Regions from separate parts of the Homo sapiens genome. Here regions 2 and 3 are each linked to region 1. Evidence: promoter capture Hi-C in human tissues and cell types (Jung and others, 2019). All regions are on one chromosome and are shown on one strand. Each heading gives the region's core, a stretch centred on a gene start or on the middle of the fragment in contact. The rest is flanking DNA. Distances are from core to core; before and after follow the strand shown.

Evidence for each region. Contacts are between HindIII fragments. The study calls those that stand out against the background at their distance.
Region 2: the fragment with the promoter of TBKBP1 here is called in contact with the fragment with the promoter of EFCAB13 in region 1 in 1 of the 25 tissues and cell types used here (IMR-90 fibroblasts).
Region 3: a fragment that was not itself captured here is called in contact with the fragment with the promoter of EFCAB13 in region 1 in 1 of the 25 tissues and cell types used here (lymphoblastoid cells).

What each region holds. Positions count from the first base shown.
Region 1 is chr17:47,321,755-47,325,795 of GRCh38, forward strand. EFCAB13 (EF-hand calcium binding domain 13) reads left to right here and starts at 2,201. Exons shown (of 25, transcript NM_152347.5): 1 at 2,201-2,320; 2 at 2,700-2,769. It overlaps EFCAB13-DT (EFCAB13 divergent transcript), which reads right to left and starts at 2,147. Exons shown (of 3, transcript NR_110880.1): 1 at 1,935-2,147. RefSeq lists a silencer at 1,930-2,339 and enhancers at 2,680-2,769, 2,810-2,989. The HindIII fragment of the contact is 8,264 bases long and covers 1-4,041 here.
Region 2 is chr17:47,691,370-47,695,410 of GRCh38, forward strand. TBKBP1 (TBK1 binding protein 1) reads left to right here and starts at 2,792. Exons shown (of 10, transcript NM_001394755.1): 1 at 2,792-2,825. RefSeq lists enhancers at 2,547-3,227, 3,228-3,907, 3,908-4,041 and silencers at 3,011-3,140, 3,391-3,450. The HindIII fragment of the contact is 16,798 bases long and covers 1-4,041 here.
Region 3 is chr17:47,675,547-47,679,587 of GRCh38, forward strand. It overlaps KPNB1 (karyopherin subunit beta 1), which reads left to right. Exons shown (of 22, transcript NM_002265.6): 16 at 863-945; 17 at 1,474-1,581; 18 at 2,500-2,643; 19 at 2,762-2,867. Among named protein-coding and RNA genes, the nearest start is that of TBKBP1, 17 kb to the right of the region's middle. The HindIII fragment of the contact is 3,989 bases long and covers 198-4,041 here.

The DNA of each region.
Region 1 (4,041 bases), core at 951-3,450:
CCACCTTGGCCTCCCAAAGTGCTGAGATTATGGGTGTGAGCCACCATGCCCAGCCTGACACAGCCATTCTTAAAAGAAGACATACAAATGGCCAACAGGTTTGCGAAAAAAAAAATCACTATTATTAGGGAAATGCAAAATAAGATTACAATATCACCTCACACCTGTTAGCATGGCTATTAAGCTGGGTGTGGTGGCTCACACCTGTAATCTCAGTACTTTGGGAGGCTGAGGTGGGCAGATTACTTGAGGGTCAGGCGTTTGAGACCACCCTGGCCAACATGGTGAAACGCCATCTCTACTAAAAATACAGAAATTAGCCAAGTGTGGTGGCACATGCTTGTAATCCCAGCTACTTGGGAGGCTGAGGCAGGAAGATTGCTTGAACCCAGGAATGGAGGTTGCAGTGATTTGAGATTGTGCCACTGCACTCCAGCCTGGGCAACAGAGTGACTCAATCTCAAAAAAAAAAAAAAAAAAAAAAAAAAAGAATTGCTATTATCAAAATGATGAAAAAAATGTGTTGCTGAGGATGTGGAGAAACCTTTTACACTGTTAGTGTTATTACAGCCATTATGGAAAACTATATGGAGGTTTCCCAAAAAATTAAAAATAGAACTACCATATGATCCAGCGATGCTATTTCTGGGCATATATTGAGTAACTGAAATCAGTATATCAAAGACTTATTTGCACTTCCATGTTCATTTCAGCATTATGCACAATCGCTGAGATAATGGAATCAACCTGTGTCCATCGATGGATGAATGGATAAAGAAAATGTAGTAAACATATGCAATGGATACTATTCAGCCTTAAAAAAGAATTTCTGTCATTTGTGACAACATGAATCAACATATGCAATGGATACTATTCAGCCTTAAAAAAGAATTTCTGTCATTTGTGACAACATGAATCAACTTGGAGGACATACTAAGTGAAAAAAGCCAGGCACAGAAAGACACATACCACATGATCTCACTTATATGTGGAATCTTAAAAAGTCAAACTCATAGAAGTAGACAGTAGAATAGTTGTTAGAGGCTGGAAAGGGACGGGGCGGGTAGGAGATGCAGGATGGGGAGATGCTGTTCAAAGGGTACAAGGTTCAGTCAGACAAAAGCAGCAAGTTTCTGAGATCTATTGCATAGTGTGGTGACTATAGCTAATAATAATATATCGTATATCTCAAAACTGCTAAGAGTAAATTTCAAATGTCTCACCATAAAAAACGTTAAACAAGGTGATGGATATGTTAAGCTTGACTTAGTCGTTCCATATTGTATACATATATTAAAATATAACATTGTACCCCATTAAATATTTACAATTATGATTTGTACATATATTTAATAATAATAAAAATCTAAATAAAATATTAAAGAATGCCTACAAAGCAAGGTTTAAGATGTAAATGAACACAGTAGTATCACGGAAGGGATTAAATATTGTAACATTTATTGAGCACTACGTATATATTTTTGAATTCCCACAACCCTGGAAGAATGAGAAAATCGAGACTCAGGGAGCGTTAAGTATTTTGCCCAACTGCATACGATAAATACATAGGAAAAACAAACACACAGAAGAAAACCAAACCAACCAAAGTATCTCTTTCAAAAGGAAACGACAGTCTCCTTAAAGGCAACCCGAGACAAATTTCAGCAAAGCCGTGGGACACATGGCCTTCGAGCTGCTGTCCATTATTGAGTAGCAGAAGCCAAGAAGGATGGAATGTTTTGGAAGAAAGGGGTCGGGGGTCGGGGTGTTCAAAGGACGGACCGAAGGTAAGATTGAAGTGGGGTCAGACCATGGCGGGACAGCGCACCGGAGAATGAACAGCGATTAGGGAAGAGTGGCGAGCGGGTGGCAAGGACGGAGGGCGGAATCCCGGCCGGGGCTGCGGGAGGAAAGCGCACGGACAGGAGCCCCACCGCTCGAATGCAGCGCCCGGCGGCTGGCCTCGTGAGGTCACAGGCCCTTACGAGGTGGGGCAGGCAGGCGCGGCCGCAGTGCCTTCCAGTCAGCGCGGAGGCGGTATTGAGTTCAGCCGCTCCCCACAGCCCCGGAGCCCCTGGGCGGTGGCGGTGGCCGCGGCAGCACCGGCTCGACAGCCGATAGGGTCCTGGGCCCGCTCCGCTCGGGGTGGTCGGTGGGCGGAGCGTCGGGCTCGGTCAGGTGACCGCGGGGGCGGGGCCGCGCGGCGCGGGATCCTGGGAAGGCTGCAGAGCTAGAGCAGCGCCGCCCGAGGGGCGGCAGGGGCTGACCACAGAGAGCGCGGGGGCCTCCAGCCGAGAGGAAGGGAGGGCAGCTCGGGCCGGTAGTGGGACCCTTGGGGGACAGAGGTGGGGAGGGGAGGCGAGACCCGCTGAGGAGTTGGGAGGGGAGCCTTCGAGGTGGAGGGTGGAGAATGCAGTAGGGTGCGAGGGAGGAAGGAGAACAGTGGTGGGGCTGGGTGAAGGAAGGTTCCAGAAAGGAACAGTGAGGGGACTGAGTGGGACAAAGGGGCAGATTGAAGGGTGACTGAGACTGATCAGGTGGTTCCTCAGAAATGGTGGTTGTTGTAGAAGGCTGGCGGTCCCGGGGGTGGTGTCACTTCCCTGCTCCTTCAGCGGGAGGCGGAGACCTCTATTAGCACACTCATTTCCATCTTGCGGGTCGTTCACTCGCTAGCTTACAGGTCCTCTTTCTTCCTGTAGAAGTCGTTGGCTTCGTAAGAGCAGGGTCTATGGGAAGCCTCCTCAGCGTGGGTTCTTGGAAGAGGTGGAGGTTCGTTCACTCGACGTTTGTTACACAAATATGAAAACAGGGTGACGAAAGTTTGAACGTTCATGAATGGCAGTAGCTGCAATGGAGTTGTGTATGCAGTTGGTATTAATGACGTTTTCAGTCCCTCTGGCGAGAGAAAAGCGAGCGAGTCGGGCGGCTTGTGAGGGAAATGTGGCATGAGAGGAAAGAGGAAGGTATTTTGTGAAAGGATGTCATACAGAGTCATGCTTCAGTGAAGACGCCTTTGTTTTTCTCATCTTAAAGCCTCACAGCCCCATTTTCCTCTCAGCTACTGCCTTATTTCTCTTAACAACGTAACTCCTTGAAAGAGCCTACCCTACTGGCTGGGTTCAATTTCTTTACCCCGTTCTCTCTTGTACTCACTCTGACGACATTGTCTCCTTACCACCCCACCCAGATGGCTCCTTTCAAGTTTGTCAGTGTCCTCCGTGTTGTGAAACCTAGCGAACCATTCAGTACTGATCTTAACCGCCCACCCCACCCCCCTTTTTTTTTTTTGAGACAAGGTCTCTGTCGTCCAGGCTGGAGTGCAGTGGTGCAATCATAGCCCACTGCAGCTTCAAACTCCTGGGCTCAAAAGATCCTCCTGGCTCAGTCTTTGGAGTAGCTGGGACTAAGGTCGCCATGTCCAGCTGATTAAAAAAAAAATTCTGTAGAGGTGGGAGTTTCACTGTTGCCCAGGCTGGTCTTGAACTCCTGGCCTTAAGCAGCCCTCCTGCTTAGACCCCCACCCCCGCATCAAAGTGTTGGGATTACCTGCATAAGCCACCATGCACAGCCTGATTGCTCACTCTTGAAGTACTTTCTTCACTTGGCATTCAGGAACCCAGACCTACCTGATTTCCCTCCTCACAGTAACCAGAGTGATCCTTTCAGAAAGAACTTCAGATTATGTAATCCTTCTCCTCAGAACTCTTTCAATGCTTGTCACTCCTTCAGAGTACAAGCCACAGTTCTTACTGTCATCTAGGGGTCCTCCATGATATGCCACTTTCACTTAGCCTCTCTGATCTCTCCTGCTTCAGCCTCCTGGGGCCTTCCCACTATTCCTTGAACATTCTTCTTGCCTCGGGGCTTTTGTACTTACTTTTCTTTCTGGCTGAAATGCTCTTCCCTAAGATATTAATCAGCTCCCTACTTCAGTTCTTGCAGGTCTGTACTCAAAAGTCTCCCTCTCAGTAAGGTCTTCCTTGGCCACCCATTCTGTTCCCTGCATCTCTTCCCCTATACTACATTTCATATTCCCCTCCC
Region 2 (4,041 bases), core at 1,542-4,041, 370 kb after region 1:
GCAGTGAGCCAAAATTGCACCACTGCACTCCAGCCTGGGCGCCAGAGAAAGACCCTGTCTTTTAAAAAAAAAAAATTGTAAGAGCTCATCAAGGAGACCTTCTCTGAATACTGTGAAGCAGATCCCATCCTCCCATTCTTCTCTAGTACTGCCCCTTGGTGTTTCTTTTTATCCTTTATCACAATTTCCTTCCTTCCTTCTTTCCTTCTTTCTTTTTTTTGAGACGGAGTTTCGCTCTTGTCACCCAGGCTGGAGTGCAATGGGGTCACCTCGGTTCACTGCAACCTCTACCTCCTGGGTTCAAGCAATTCTTCTGCCTCAGCCTCCCGAGTAGCTGGGATTACAGGGACCCACCGTCATGCCTGGCTAATTTTTGCATGTTTAGTAGAGACGGGTTTCACCATGTTGGTCAGGCTGGTCTCAAAGTCCTGACCTCAGGTGATCTGCCTGCCTCAGCCCCACAAAGTGCTGGGATTACAGGCATGAGCCACTGTGCCTGGTCCTTTATCACAATTTCTAGTGGTTTTACTTATTCATCTTTTTATTTTTCTGACTTCTCTACCATACTGCAAGCTCTAAGAGAGCAAGAGACATGTATACCTGTCAGAGACATGTTCAGCACTGTATTCTCAGCACCCAGCACATAATAGATGTTCAAGAAATCTTTGCCGAATAAATATACAACGAGCAGGTACCAACCCTCAGGGCACCTTAGAATACAAGGATGGATGGGATATAATCTCTGCTCTCAGAACTGCCTGGTATGAGCAGCAGAACTAGAAATGGAGAATGCAATGAGATCAGGTCCAGATTGGGGGAGGGGGAGGATTTTAGGGCACCTAAACCAGGCCTAATGGACTTTTGCCACCAACCACCTAGAACCAAGGATAGAAGCATTTGGCTGCACCCTGCCAGGTGACTCAATTAGGCCCTGAGCATCCAAGCAGCAGCAGGGGGCTGATGACTCATCCCAGACAGTGTGTGCTTAGAGGGTCCTGGGACCCCTTTTTCCAGTGAGGGAGGGCTTGCCAGTTGGTCTTATGGGTCCTGTTTGTGGCCAAGTCCAAGGTCACCGAGGGTCCCAGAGACAACCCTACACCTCCTAGTCTAGCCTCCAATCTTTTGCCTGGTCCCTTGCTTCAGAAGAGATCTTGGGGAGTACTAGGGAAAGGAACATCTGCCTAGCCCTTGGGATTAGTGGGGTGACAGATGTCCCCACTGGTTTGCCTTCATATCTAGAGGGTAGATAGGTCATCCCACATGGTTCAGAGAAAGCTAGTGCCTCAGAGAACAAGTGGCTGACCTGCCTTCCTGTTCTGGACTACAAACGGGAGCCAGTGCTGGCAGGAAAGACTGAAAGGGAACCCAGCAGGAGGAGGAGGAAGGAAGCCACTGAGAATCCCCCCTTCTATGAAGAGAATGAGTCTAGAGCTCTGGCTGGCTCTCCTGGTAGAAGCTCACCTCTCAGTCCAATTTTCTCCCAGCAGTGAGGAAAGATGGCAGCTGCTGCTTTTCAAAGCTCAGAGAGAGCAAGAAACCTTTTCCTTCCATCCTCCCCCTCGGAGATTCCCACCCCCATCCCACCTCAGGAGCCAAAAAGGTAGGCTCAGGTTCCCAGCAGTCTTCGCAGCTAAGGCTGAATCTGCCAAAAGCCCCCGCCCAGCTTATCCCCTGCTTCCGGGCTTTGCCTCCCTGTCCACAGAGGATGCTCTTCAGCCAGAGTGCTCCAGGGTTCCCCTGATCATTCTCTACCTGCAGCTAGGCTGACCATGCCTCTGTCCACATTATTTAATCCACCAGGCAATACTCAAAATGACATCGTTAACACTTCCTGAGCATTCGCAGGCTGCTGTATTTAGTTCTGATCCCCATTCTTCCTCCATGAGAGTGCTTAGGTGGGGCATGATCTCCAGCTTAGAAAGGTTAAGGTAACTTGCCCAAGGTCACACAGCAGGAAAGTAGCAAAAAACTTGTTTCTCTTGCCCAGCAGTTTGGCAGGTGCTCAAATAATCTTTGTGCACAGGGTGACATCTGTTGTTTCTTCATTTCCCTGACCTGTGGGTACTTGAGGGTGGCCGGGGAGTGGTGTGTGGGGAGGGAGATGGCTGTCCTTCTTCATGAATGAATCTTTGACCTCCTTAGTTTACTCTCACTTCCAAAGAAGTTACAGCTTTAATCTCTCTGTACCCTATGTTCAATGTATTTATCGCAGCAATGCCCCTTTTACCAAGAGCAACGAAGAGCAGGTCTAATGATTTCCTTCTCAAAAGCGCAAAGACCAAAAAAAAAAAAAAAAAGCCAGATAAATAGCCCCACTTCCTCCCCAAATATACAGCCCATAACTAAACAACCAAAACAACCAAAGCATCAGCCGGGCCCCTGCACTGACCGCAGACGCCCCCAACACACGCCACCACGCCACACTGCGCCGGGAGGCGTCGGGGAGGGGGCGCCAGCGCGGGCCGCTGGCGCCGCAGGGAGCCGGTGGGCTCCGGGCGCGCTGCCAGGAAGGGCCGCACCGTAGGGGCCGCCGCCTCTCGCCACGTGGTGGTGGCAGCGGCGGGGTCCGGGGCGCCTTCCCAGCTGGAGAAACCCGGAGCAGCCGGGGAGGAGGAGGCGGAGGAGGCGGCGGCGGCGGAGGAGGAGCGGGGCGGACGGGAGGGAGGGGGTTGGGGGGAGGGGTGGGGGGTGGGGAGAGACCCGGCGGCGGCGACAGGGCGAGGAGCAGAGCGCGGTACCAGGGGGGTGGGGGCACTGGTGCCCGTTTGGGGAGGGAGCAGGCGGAGGGGGTAAGCTGCGATTACAAGCAGGAACCGGCAGCAGCTGTGAGTCCCCGGCTGGGGCTAGGGCTGGGGGAGGGGAGCGGCGCCCGGGCTGGGCCCCAGGGGTCGCGGGGTGGGCAGGAGGAGGCGGCAGGAGGGCGGCTGGCAGCCGCACGGGATGGCTGGGAGGGAAGGGGTCCGGTGTCGGCCGCCCTCATCCCCTCGCGTCCCCCTCCGCCGCCGTTCCTCAGGCCGCGCCACTCCCGGAGCCCCTTCCCCGGCCCCGAGAGGGTGTCCGGGGGCCCAGGGCTCGGCCGGTTGTGGGGGAGGGGGCTGCGTGGTCTCGGCCCCCGAGAGGGGAGGGGCGACAATTTCTGTCGGCCGAGCGAAAGGGGTTTAAAGGGCGGCTCTTAAAGGGGCCGCAGGAGGGGCCCGGGCCGACAGAGGCACTCACCCCTTCCCCAGCCGCCTTCCATTGCGCTCACCCGGGCGCTGGGCCCAGAGAGGAATGCGGAGGAAGGAGGCATTTGTGGTGCGGCCTCGGGGACAGAGCCCCGCCAGCGGGGTGGGCGCAGAGGGGCGGGCGGGGGTCTGGGGGGGTGTGGTAAGCGCTGGCGCGCGGAGCTGGGGGGAGGGGATGGCGTGGGAAGGAGAGGGTTAAAGGTGGGGCCGGCCCTACAAACGCGCGCACACACTCCTTACTCAGACCCAGTCACTCGCGTTTCCCTGGCACTTAGATGGGCCTGTGGGTGGCGGAGGGGGGGGGGTGGATTGAATTGGAGCCTGCGCCGGAGCCCTTTGCACCCCAAGCTCCTGCAGCCCGACCTGGGGGCCCCGCTGTCTGAACTCACAGCTCCCTGCCGAGCCCCCTCTCCGGGGTGCACATAACGCTCCAGCGCGCGCACACACCTCGGACAGTCCCCTCGCGTCTCACGTGACACGCGGCCCGGACGTGCCACCCTGCCCACGCGCTCACGCACGCGTGCACACACCAGCCTCCTGGTCGCTGCCCCACTCCGTCCCGACGCCCCTGCGACCCCGAAGGCACTCATTGACTGACACACCTACACTCATTCACAGACGCACACTCCCCCCATACGCCAACCCCAGACACACATTCATAACCAGGCCCGAGAGAAGTACACACGCACCCCCTCACTGCCTACTCCTGCTTTCGGGAGCCTGAGTCATTCCTGCCCCCTCGTAGGGTTCCCCATTTCCCGGTGCGCGGGCACCCTGAGACAGCCTTGGGAATTCGTTCGCGTCCCCTTCCACCTGG
Region 3 (4,041 bases), core at 942-3,441, 350 kb after region 1:
TTCTATTTTCTTTCCTGGTACTTGTCATCACCTGGTTTGGTTTGTAGTGCTTTGGACTAAGATTGACACATCATGGTGCCTGGTATGGGATGAAATGAAACATTGAGCGAGTTCTAGGAATTGATTTTCTGATTTTTACATGTCTGACTGCAAAATTGGTTTGGGGAAGCCATATCTGACTTAAGACTCTTTGAAGGGGCATTACGAAGCACTTTAGGAATCTGATATGCCTTTTCAGGGGTGGCCTGTAAGTACATTGCTAAGGCCATTTACCTGAGGACCACTCTCCTGAGGACTAGACCTATTTTTGGCATAAACAGCCTATGTCCAACTGGTCTGTCAACATGTGACCACTCCTCTGAAAGGGCAAAGAAGTTAATTTTGGCTCCTGGAGTGGCTGATTTGGATCTGAAGCCCAGTGCTGCTTTTCCTGGCTGTGGCTTGTTTAGCCCTTGATGGAATTGCCTAAGGACCCTGTTTTGAAGCTGGCTTGCAGAAAGGACATGCTATTATCAGATGAGGAGGTGGACAAGAGTCAGTATTGCTGGTTCAGCCCATTTAAAATTAACCTTGACATTCCTTGAGGGTCATACCACTTGGTTGTATTAGTCAGAGTAAAGCCCTATTCTGTGGACAGTGGGCATTGTCTCTGTGGCGTATGAATTAGGGCCCTTCCAGCAGTAATAAATTTGGCTTATGCAAGCCTTTAATGTCTTCATGATGGAATCGGTAACTAAAGCACATTTCACCCAACCTGTTGAGTGGAGCGAGTACATTTTGGGAGAGGTAGGATGGGTTATTTCTGCCTGCCTCTGTGTTAACCCGTGGTGCTGTCATTGGCTAATAGCTTATTTCATTACAGTGTTGGGTGGTGAATTCCTCAAGTACATGGAGGCCTTTAAACCCTTCCTGGGCATTGGATTAAAAAATTATGCTGAATACCAGGTAGGATGTGCTTTTCAAAATAGTATGTTCCCATTTATATCTGACAGTCACTGTAGTGCACGCAAAACCAGGTTCTTATAGCTTAAGTAGTTTTTCCTGATACATTGTCCTAAAAGGCAAGCTACTTTATTCATTGCCTGAACGTTTGAACTGGAAGTAGTCCATGAAAAACAGGATATTAGATGTACCAGATAACGGTGGACAAGATATTAGATGTAACAGATAATGGTGGACAAGATGACTGTTTATTTGCTTAGACAGTACTAATGCAGGAGCAGCTATAAAGTTGAGCTATTAGCACCCTGGAGAGCAAGGCTTTTTTTTTTTTTTTTTTTTTAACTTTATCAGTGATCTCTCTCGGATAGTCTTTGTTCCCTGCCTGCCATGTTGGTTGTTGAAAAATTAATCTCGGCAGAGGGATTTAACTCTAGGTTCAAGTGATAAAAGCTCAGCAGCTAGTTAAAAATAATATCTTGCCCCAGCAGGCAGCCTTTTCTGTTAGAAGATTATTTCCTTGATTCTTGGCAGGTTTGTTTGGCAGCTGTGGGCTTAGTGGGAGACTTGTGCCGTGCCCTGCAATCCAACATCATACCTTTCTGTGACGAGGTGATGCAGCTGCTTCTGGAAAATTTGGGGGTGAGTATCTACACACAATCTAATTAACCAGTCTTCTTTGAAGAAAACAACAGTTGGAAAGATAGTTAAATATCGACCAGGCTGGGCGCAGTGGCCTGTAATCCCAGCATTTTGGGAGGCCGAGGCAGGCCAGGAGTTCGAGACCAACCTGGACAACATGGTGAAACCCCGTCTGTACTGTAGATACAAAAAAAATTAGCCGGGCGTGATGGCAGGCGCTTGTAATCCCAGCTACTCGGAAGGCTGAGGCAGGATAATCGCTTGTACCCGGGAGGTGGACGTTGCAGTGAGCCAAGATCACGCCATTGCACTCCAGCCTGGGCAAGAAGAGCCAAACTCCGTCTCAAAAAAAAAAAAAAAAAAAAAAAATCAGTGACAGGGAGCTGTAAGTTTCTAGAACATTGGCTTTGGGCTTATAAAGAGGGGAGTTGTTCATTTCACAGATGACTCTGAAGAAAGATTGTAAAGTTAAAGGAATGTGTGCTCTATTAGAGATTTTTAAAACAAAACAGTAAAATGCAAAGGAAAAGTAAATACAGTTGTTCCTTGACTTATGATGGAGTTAGGTCCCAATAAACACATTGTAAAGTGGAGAAATCATCAAACCATCATGAGCAGGGGACCATTTGTATATTATACCTCTCTCCAGAGATAGCCATCATTAATTATTGTACATGTGTGTTCTCAGACAAGTCACTTGATTCTTAAGTCAGTCTCCTCATGTGTAAAGTGGGAATACCAATACCTGGGCTAGCTTCTTAGAGTTGGTGTGAGGTGCAAATGGGAAAGGTTTTGTAAGCTATAAAGGACCATCCAAATATTTAAAATCAATAGTTGCTTGTTAGAAATGAAATTTTCATGAATCTTTGGACCAAACAAGTTTTGACTTAATTCACTTTTCCTTTTGTTCCTTGTCAGAATGAGAACGTCCACAGGTCTGTGAAGCCGCAGATTCTGTCAGTGTTTGGTGATATTGCCCTTGCTATTGGAGGAGAGTTTAAAAAATACTTAGAGGTTGTATTGAATACTCTTCAGCAGGCCTCCCAAGCCCAGGTGGACAAGGTAAGCTTAAAGCTATCTTGGCTGTTCTTTAAGTCTAGCTCTAATTGGAGGGACTATTGACAAACATGCAGCTAAAAGTGATCAGTGTGATGTAGGTTCTGTTCTTTGTGTCTTACAGTCAGACTATGACATGGTGGATTATCTGAATGAGCTAAGGGAAAGCTGCTTGGAAGCCTATACTGGAATCGTCCAGGGATTAAAGGGGGATCAGGAGAACGTACACCGTTGAGTATACAACCCAGTTCCCTTCGTCCGCTCGCCAATGTGCACTTAGCCAAGTGGGCTATGTCTGTCATTCTGTAGCTCGCTTGTGAACCTAGTGCCTGTTGCTTAAAAGGCTGGGAGAAGGGGGAGCAGTGCCCTAATGAAGAGAGTGGCTTGGGGAAAACTGTAGACTACTGTTTTTGCTCTGCTTCTTCTTTCTTTTTTTTGTTTTGAGACGGAGTCTCACTCTGTTGCCCAGGCTGGAGTGCAGTCGTGCAATCTCGGCTCACTGCAACCTCCACCTCCCAGGTTCAAGCAGTTCTCCTGCCTCAGCCTCCTGAGTAGCTGGAACTATACACATCTGCCACTATGCCTGGCTAATTTTTATATTTTTAGTAGAGGCAAGCTTTCACCTTGTTGGTCAGGCTGGTCTTGAACTCCTGATCTCAATTGATCCACCCGCCTTGGTCTCCCAAAGTGCTGGGATTACAGGCTTGAGCCACTGTGCCCAGCCTTTTAAATTTATTTTATTTTATTTTTATTTTTTGGAGACAGTCTCACTCTCACCCAAGCTGGAGTGCAGTGGAGCGATCACAGCTCACTGCAGTCTTCACTTCCTGGGTTCAAGTGATTCTTATGCCTCAGCTTCCTGAGTAGCTGGGACTACAGGCACACACCACCATGCCCAGCTATTTTTTTTTTTTTTGTATTTTAGTAGAGATGGGATTTCACCATGTTTTGCAGGCTGCTCTCGAACTCCTGAGCTCAGGCAATCTCCCACCTTGGGCTCCCAAAGTGATGGGATTTCAGGCGTGAGCCACTGCACCCAGCCCTCTGCTTCTTTTTCTCATATTTCTTGAGTATTACAAGGGATGGGATTCAGCAAAAATGTTGGGGGGAAGAAACCCAACATAAATGCTTCCTGTATCAACCATGAGTGGCAGGTCCCCTACCCCTTTCCCATCCCCACAAGCTAAATTGGAGGACTGGGGAGTCATAATTCCCGTTACGTGTTCTTGTTGCTGATTGGGGAAATTTTTTACTTCACCCCCCTTGGTATCATTAGCTCAGGAAAAAGTTAAATTTGTTTCTTCTATATTTGCCTATAGGAAGAGGAATATTTGTCTCTTCTGTCGACTTGAGGAACGACACATTAATCAAAGGAAGAATAATTTGATATAACTATATGCATCT